Linked DNA regions of Homo sapiens: region 1 is linked to region 2. The links are contacts of gene promoters, found by promoter capture Hi-C in human tissues and cell types (Jung and others, 2019). All regions are on one chromosome and are shown on one strand. The core of a region is centred on a gene start or on the middle of the fragment in contact, and the rest is flanking DNA. Distances in the headings are between cores, read along the strand shown.

Region 1 (3,063 bases), core at 448-2,947, 300 kb after region 2:
CATTTATGGAGTGTACCACTGCCCGGCCCTAAGCTTCCTCATCCTGGCCCAGGCTGGCCAAGGGCAGAGGGCCAGGTTGGGGGGACACACCTGGGGAGGGGGCCCTGGGTTACACTCGGGGCTCTGCCCCCATGCCAGCTGCAACCAGGCAGCAGGGCTCCCCTCCTGTAGTAGAACAGAGTCCAGAGACAATGTCGATGGACCCAGTGGAGGGACAGGACCCCCACATGGGGCAGGAAGAGATGCCTGCTCCACCAGCCTCTGATGCAGGTTCTGTGGCAGCCCAGTGGCTTCCTGACCTCAGGAATTCCCTCCGTAGCCGCTTGCCTTGAGCACCTCGCTTTGCACCTCAGTTCCTACACGTGTAAAATGGGACCTTCACGAAGATTTAACGAGATCCAACCTGGAATGGGGCGGCCCACCCCAGGCACCATCGCTGTGCTTTCCTACACCCGGGGCAAGTGGGTAGCAGGCCCTCAGGGTCCGGCCCTGGCCCCAAGAAGGCCCCACGGAGGGTTGGGAGGCCACCTGGAGGAGGCTGGTTCTGCCCTGGACAGCCTTGGCCAAAGCAGAGAGAGGGTCCCTGGGCAGAGGCACCAGCCACAGAGCCAGCTCAGCCCTGCCCAGCCTGCCCCAGTGCCAGGCCCAAGTGGTCACCCAAGAGGCGCTCTGGACTGGCCAGCCTGGGCTGGGAGCTGAGGCCCTCACCTGGAAGGCCACAGGCAGAGCCCAAACTGTCCTCAGTCCCTTGCATCCCCATCAAGTGTGCCTACTGGCCACCAGGAAGTGCCTTTATTTCTGCTTCAAACCACGGAACAAAGCGGGGTGTGATCCAGACCTGGGCCATGGGCAGAAGAGGGCAGGGCTGCGGTCCAGACCCTGTGACACAGGAAGCAGCCTCTGGGCTTTCCAGGCTGGGCAGGCCCGGCCCTCCTGTGCATCAGCCCGGCCACCCTGGGGCAGAGGCCCTCAGCAGTCAGACAGCAGAGCCCAGCCACGTCCTTGTCCTATCCCCGGGCCGGGGCTGCTGGGTCCTCGGAGCAGGCACACTCGCTGCCAGCGTTATCTGCAGCTTTCCCTGGTTCTCCGGGCAGACTCGGCGAGGGGGCTGCAGAAACATAAAGGCGGCCGTGTTGGTCGGCGGGGGGAGTGCAGCCTGAGAGGATCCCAGGGGCCCGAAATGAGCGTTTGGCAGGCAACTGGGCTGGGGCAGGCCAGGAGGTCCCCTCGGGTGATGAGAAGCGGGAGGGGTGCTCGGCCAGGGAGGCAGAATGAGGCTGGGCTCTGCGAGCAGGGGCAGCTCCCACATCCACCAGATGATGGGGTGGCAGAGGGAAGGGAAGTCCAGGGCAGACTCAAGGATATCCCCAGAGCCCAAGTCCCAGGGGTTACCCGAGTGGTGGTCCCTGATGCTGTCCTGGGCCCTGGGCAGAAACTGACAAGAGGCTTTGGGCAGAGGTGGGGGTTATGGGTCCAGACAGATAACCCCTCTGGCCACAATGAAAAGGGGGTTTTCTGGCCAGTACAGGCTGAGGTCTGGGGATGGGAAGAGGGCAGGCAAGGTGCTGAGCGGCCCCAGCTGCGGCTGAATTCACTTCCTCCTCAGGGAATAGACTCCCAGGGGTCTCCAGGGGACAACATCTCCCAGGGCACAGGGCACACCTCATGCCCCTTGCCCAGCCCCCAGTGGCCCTCAGAGCCATTCACAAGGCCCCCACAGCCCAGCCTGCTGCCTCTCCTGTTCCTTGGGCCTGGCGCCGGCTGCCCCCTCCTGCTCACACAATCCTCCCAGAAGTTTCAGCTTTTATTTTGAGATGGAGTCTCACTCTATCGCCCAGGCTGGAGTGCAGTGGCACGATCTCAGCTCACTGCAACCTCTGCCTCCAGGGTTCAAGCGATTCTCCTGCCTCAGCCTTCAGAGTAGCTGGGATTACAGGCGCCCGCCACCATGCCTGGCTAATTTTTGTATTTTTAGTAGAGATGGGGTTTCACCATGTTGGCCAGGCTAGTCTCGAACTCCTGACCTCAACTGATCCACCTGCCTCAGCCTCCCAAAGTGCTGGGATTATAGGCATGAGCCACCGCGCCTGGCCTGCTTTCAGCCTTTAAACAGGGCACCTGCAGCGGGATGGAGCCTGCCAACAGGCCAGCCCATCCCCCCACCACAAGCACCTGTAGGCTCACAGCCTCCCAGGCCCTAGTGAGCAAGGCACACTTGCTCCAGAGGTGATGACGAGGGTGCACTGGATAAGGAGGGGCGAGAATGTGGCATCACTCATTCAACAATTATGCACCGTGCACCTCCCGTGCCCAGGCCTGCGGCTGAGAGTGGATGAGGGACCTCATTTGCAGGTGGGAGGGAGGACGGTGCTAGGGAGGGGGGTTAAGGCCAGGCAGCACCTAGAGTCTCAGGCAGAGACTCCAAGGCGGGCGGAGGATGGAGTGTGAACAGGCAGGAGGCGGGAAGGCCTTGCTTGCTGGAGCCGCAGGAAGCACGCCCCGCTTCTGACCCTGGCAGTGGCCACTTCCTCCTCTCAGCACCCCCACAGGCACCCTCACTTACCAGCAGCAGCCCGGCTCTGAGAGGGGCCCCTCTGGGCACTCTCCAGGGGCCAGCGCAGCTCCCCACTTTCCACAGGGTCCGCCTCGCTGGGCTCCACCACGATTGAGGGCAGCCGCTGGCCCAGCCGAGGGCCCTTCTCCCAGGCACCTGCCACAGCCTGCAAGGAGGATGGGCAGGATCATGGCCATGCCAGGCCTGGCACTCCTATTCCCCCCTACCCCTGTCCTGCACACTGCCCCACTAGGGAGATCAGAGACCCTTCCCACCCAGTCCCCAGGGCAGGGATGGGCACATGTGTATTCACACAGGAACATCCCTGAGACAGGTCCCAGGCCCTACCCAGTCCCAACCCTGGGGGTAGGGTGCTCAGCCCCTGGGGTCACAGCTCTCAGGAGGCACCATAGGACGCAGCTGTGCTCAGCTCCAGAAGCCCATTGCACAGCCAGAGCCTGAGGCCGGAGAGGCCAAGGTCACCAGGAATGAGCCCAGGCTTCTGCGCA
Region 2 (3,214 bases), core at 292-2,791:
TCAAACGTTTCTTCAATGGAATTTCTACTACAAGTTCTCATTCTCTAGCAATGCTGTTCCTGGCATTTTGTAGTTTCACATGAACAAAATCAAAGGTTCCTTTTATAAAACCATAGCCTGTGAGCGCTGAAAGGGACCTAAGAGCTCATCTAAGCCAATCTCTTTTTAGGAAGGAGGACAGCGAAGCCCCCAGCGGGTGTCCCTCAGCTAGGCAGTGAGTGGCAGAGCAGAGCTTCACTATACATCTGCTTTTCAAAATGTTTAACCAACTCCTTCAAAAAAGATTTGTATGGAAAGGAAACTGCCTTAATAAAGGCTGCGCGCTAGTGTTTTGGAATTCCTAAGGGGACCGCAAAGATCCCTCAGTGGACACTTAGTGACTGTGATTAAATTTAGTTCCAGACCATCTTAAAGAACGAGACCGCCCACTTGACCCAATCGATTACTCTTAATCAGCACCGGTAACATATGTTATTAATGTGACAGTCTCTCAAGAACTGCCTGACCAAGTTAAAAGCAGAGTTCGGCTAAAATAAGCACTGACCACTGCAGTGATCTGACACACACGTTTGCACAATCCATTGCGCGGCAACCTGGCCTCTCAAAGCACCGATCCGTAACGCTGCAACTCCTGGGCTTTATTAACCGACTAGACTGCCGGCATAATCGATGTACTTCGCAGACCCGCCCGCGAACAGCGGGACACGGCAGACTTCTGGAGGAAACGGTCCGACCTGGCTGCCTCCTGGGTGACTACGGCCTGCCCTCTATTTCCAGAGCGTTCGGCTGGGGGGAACACCCGACTGCAAGGCACTGCCCGAGGAGCACGAATGCCACCCCGAAGGTCCGCCAACTACAACGCCCAGGTTACTTACGTTTTCAGTGTCTCGTTCATTCACCGTTGGCAATGGGGTCCTAGTGGACATTTTACTGCACTTTAATTCTGCACAATGCGAGGGTCAAAACAAAACAGCACAGCCCTAGGAGGCCGGCGACCAGCGTCCTCGAGTCCACGGCAGTTCCGAAAAGGCGCCGTGGGGAGGGCGGCTCCCTTCCCCCTACGGCCGTCTAGATCCCGGGCCTGGCCCGGGCCGTCCCCCGGCGGGTCCCGGGGCTCATTCTCTCCCTGCCTCGGCGGCCGAGGCGAGGAGACCGGGAGGGCGGCAGTGGCGGAGCCGAGCCTGCGGGCGGCGGGCTGCGCTTCGGCCCGCCGGCGTCCCCTTGCCTCAGGGCGCCCCGCGATCCTGGGCCCCCTCACCTCCTTCTCCACTCCCTCCCGTCGCACCGCGAATTTCAGCTCGCGGGCCTCCACACAGCGCCGCCGGCGGCGCCTGAAAACGAGGAGGCGGAGGAGGATGTGAAGGAAGTGGAGCGCAAGACAGGCCGCCGCGGGCTGTGGGCGCCGACCATGGAGCGGGCTGCGGAGGAGGCGCCTGCGCCCGACTGCTTCTCCCTCTCTAGCGAGCTTGCTGCCTCAGCCTCCGCCCTGCTGGCCGCCGCTGCCGCCGCCGCACCCCGGCACCTCAGAGCCTCACGGAGCCAAGATGGCCGCCCCTCGGCTTCCTCTGCTGCCTCCGGCTGCCGGAAGTGACGACAGGCCGCCACCCGGAGTCCCGCCAATCAGCATGGCCTGAGAAAGCCGGCCCGGCTGTTGTTGCTAGGGGCGACTTGGTCCAGACCTCGCCGCGGGGGCGGTGCAGAGGGCTGGATAGTGCTGGTCGGGTCTCCGCTGACTCCCGCGGGCTGCGGGTTCCTCCTGTCCCGAGCGCGCCGGCAACCGCGAAAGAGCCGAGAAACGGCTCTGGGCGACAGCCAGAGCCCTCCCGCTGAGTTGGCATTTACACACTACAGGCCTGGGTTGGCTGGATTACAGATCGAGAGCCTATTGTGCGCAAAAGTTGCGGTTGCATCCCTGGGACTGCGCTGCACCGAATGGAGCCCCAGCATTAATTAATGACAGGGCCGGGGCTACGGGAAGGCGCCGGGCTCTTGCATCCTTAACTGTGACCCGGGAGTCAGGTTCTCGCCAACAAACCTTCCCGTCTCCGGATCTGAGCAGCTGCGGGCTGGGCGCGGACCCTGAGGGCAGCAGGCGCCTCTTGCCCTCAAGGAGCTGGTGGTCAGACGGGTGACAGACCCGGACCCAGCTAAATGCCATCCGGATGGAAGAGTGCAATAACGAGGGTGGCACAAAGGGGATGGGTTTGGGGGCGAAATGAATCTGTAGAGGACCCCAGGGACCAGCTTCCAAATGCCTGTAGGGGGTTTATAAGCAGGCTTTTCTTACAGTCAGTGCGTTGCTGCTGGAAGACTGGAAGCATCTCTGGGTGCCAGCCTCGGGCCAGGCTCGGTAGATGCCTGCAGGCTGGAACACTGGAAATGCTACCTGACCTGGAAGCCTTCCTTGCCCATTCACCTCTTCACGTGCTCGGTGCCTCTACTCAGCTCCTGGCCAGCGGTGGATGGAATCCATGGGTGCAGGGTCCGAAGAGGGAGAGTAGTGTGAGATGGGGGTGACACGAACTGTTACCGAGAGTCGAGTCTACCTTGTGGGTTCATGACATTTGTTACCTCATTTAGCCTCAGGGTAACCCTATGAGATGGGCAGACACACATGCGATCCGAAGTCTAGACAGGTACAGTGACTTGGCTAAAGTACACAGGTTGGTTAGCGACAGAGCTGGGATTCTAACCTAGCTCCCAAAGCTTGGATAATAGGTAAGCCCTTGTAGTGGGGGGCTATGTCATGCTTGCTTTCCCTTTGGTCCGTTGGCATCCCAACTCTCTTGCTATGTTTGAGACATTTCTTGCTCCACGAAATATATGTTTGTTGTTGTTGTTGTTGTTGTTGTTGTTTTGGGACGGAGTTTCGCTCTGTCGCCCAGGCTGGAGTGCAGTGGCGCGATCTCCACTCACTGCAAGCTCCACCTCCCGGGTTCACGCCATTCTCCTGCCTCAGCCTCCCGAGTAGCTGGGACTGCAGGTGCCCACCACCATGCCTGGCTAATTTTTTTTGTATTTTTAGTAGAGATGCGGTTTCACCGTCTTAGCCAGGATGGTCTCGATCTCCTGACCTTGTGATCTGCCCGTCTCGGCCTCCCAAAGTGCTGGGATTACAGGCGTGAGCCACTGCGCTCGGCCAAATATATGTATCTTTAAACGCCAGATTCACTCCCAGAGAGGCCAGAGGCTCCCAATGTTAAAACACCTGAGG

Evidence for each region. The method cuts DNA at HindIII sites, captures the fragments that hold promoters and counts their contacts. A contact is called where the count stands out against the background at its distance.
Region 1: a fragment that was not itself captured here is called in contact with the fragment with the promoter of MARK3 in region 2 in 1 of the 25 tissues and cell types used here (small bowel).

Annotation. Positions count from the first base shown.
Region 1 is chr14:103,087,742-103,090,804 of GRCh38, reverse strand. It overlaps LBHD2 (LBH domain containing 2), which reads right to left. Exons shown (of 4, transcript NM_001330236.2): 3 at 2,564-2,720; 4 at 778-1,108. The coding sequence ends at 1,008. Among named protein-coding and RNA genes, the nearest start is that of LBHD2, 5.1 kb to the right of the region's middle. The HindIII fragment of the contact is 8,591 bases long and covers 1-3,063 here.
Region 2 is chr14:103,383,742-103,386,955 of GRCh38, reverse strand. It overlaps MARK3 (microtubule affinity regulating kinase 3), which reads right to left and starts at 1,541. Exons shown (of 18, transcript NM_001128918.3): 1 at 876-1,541. The coding sequence starts at 926. RefSeq lists enhancers at 605-794, 735-1,724, 1,725-2,716 and a silencer at 1,075-1,264. The HindIII fragment of the contact is 8,681 bases long and covers 1-3,214 here.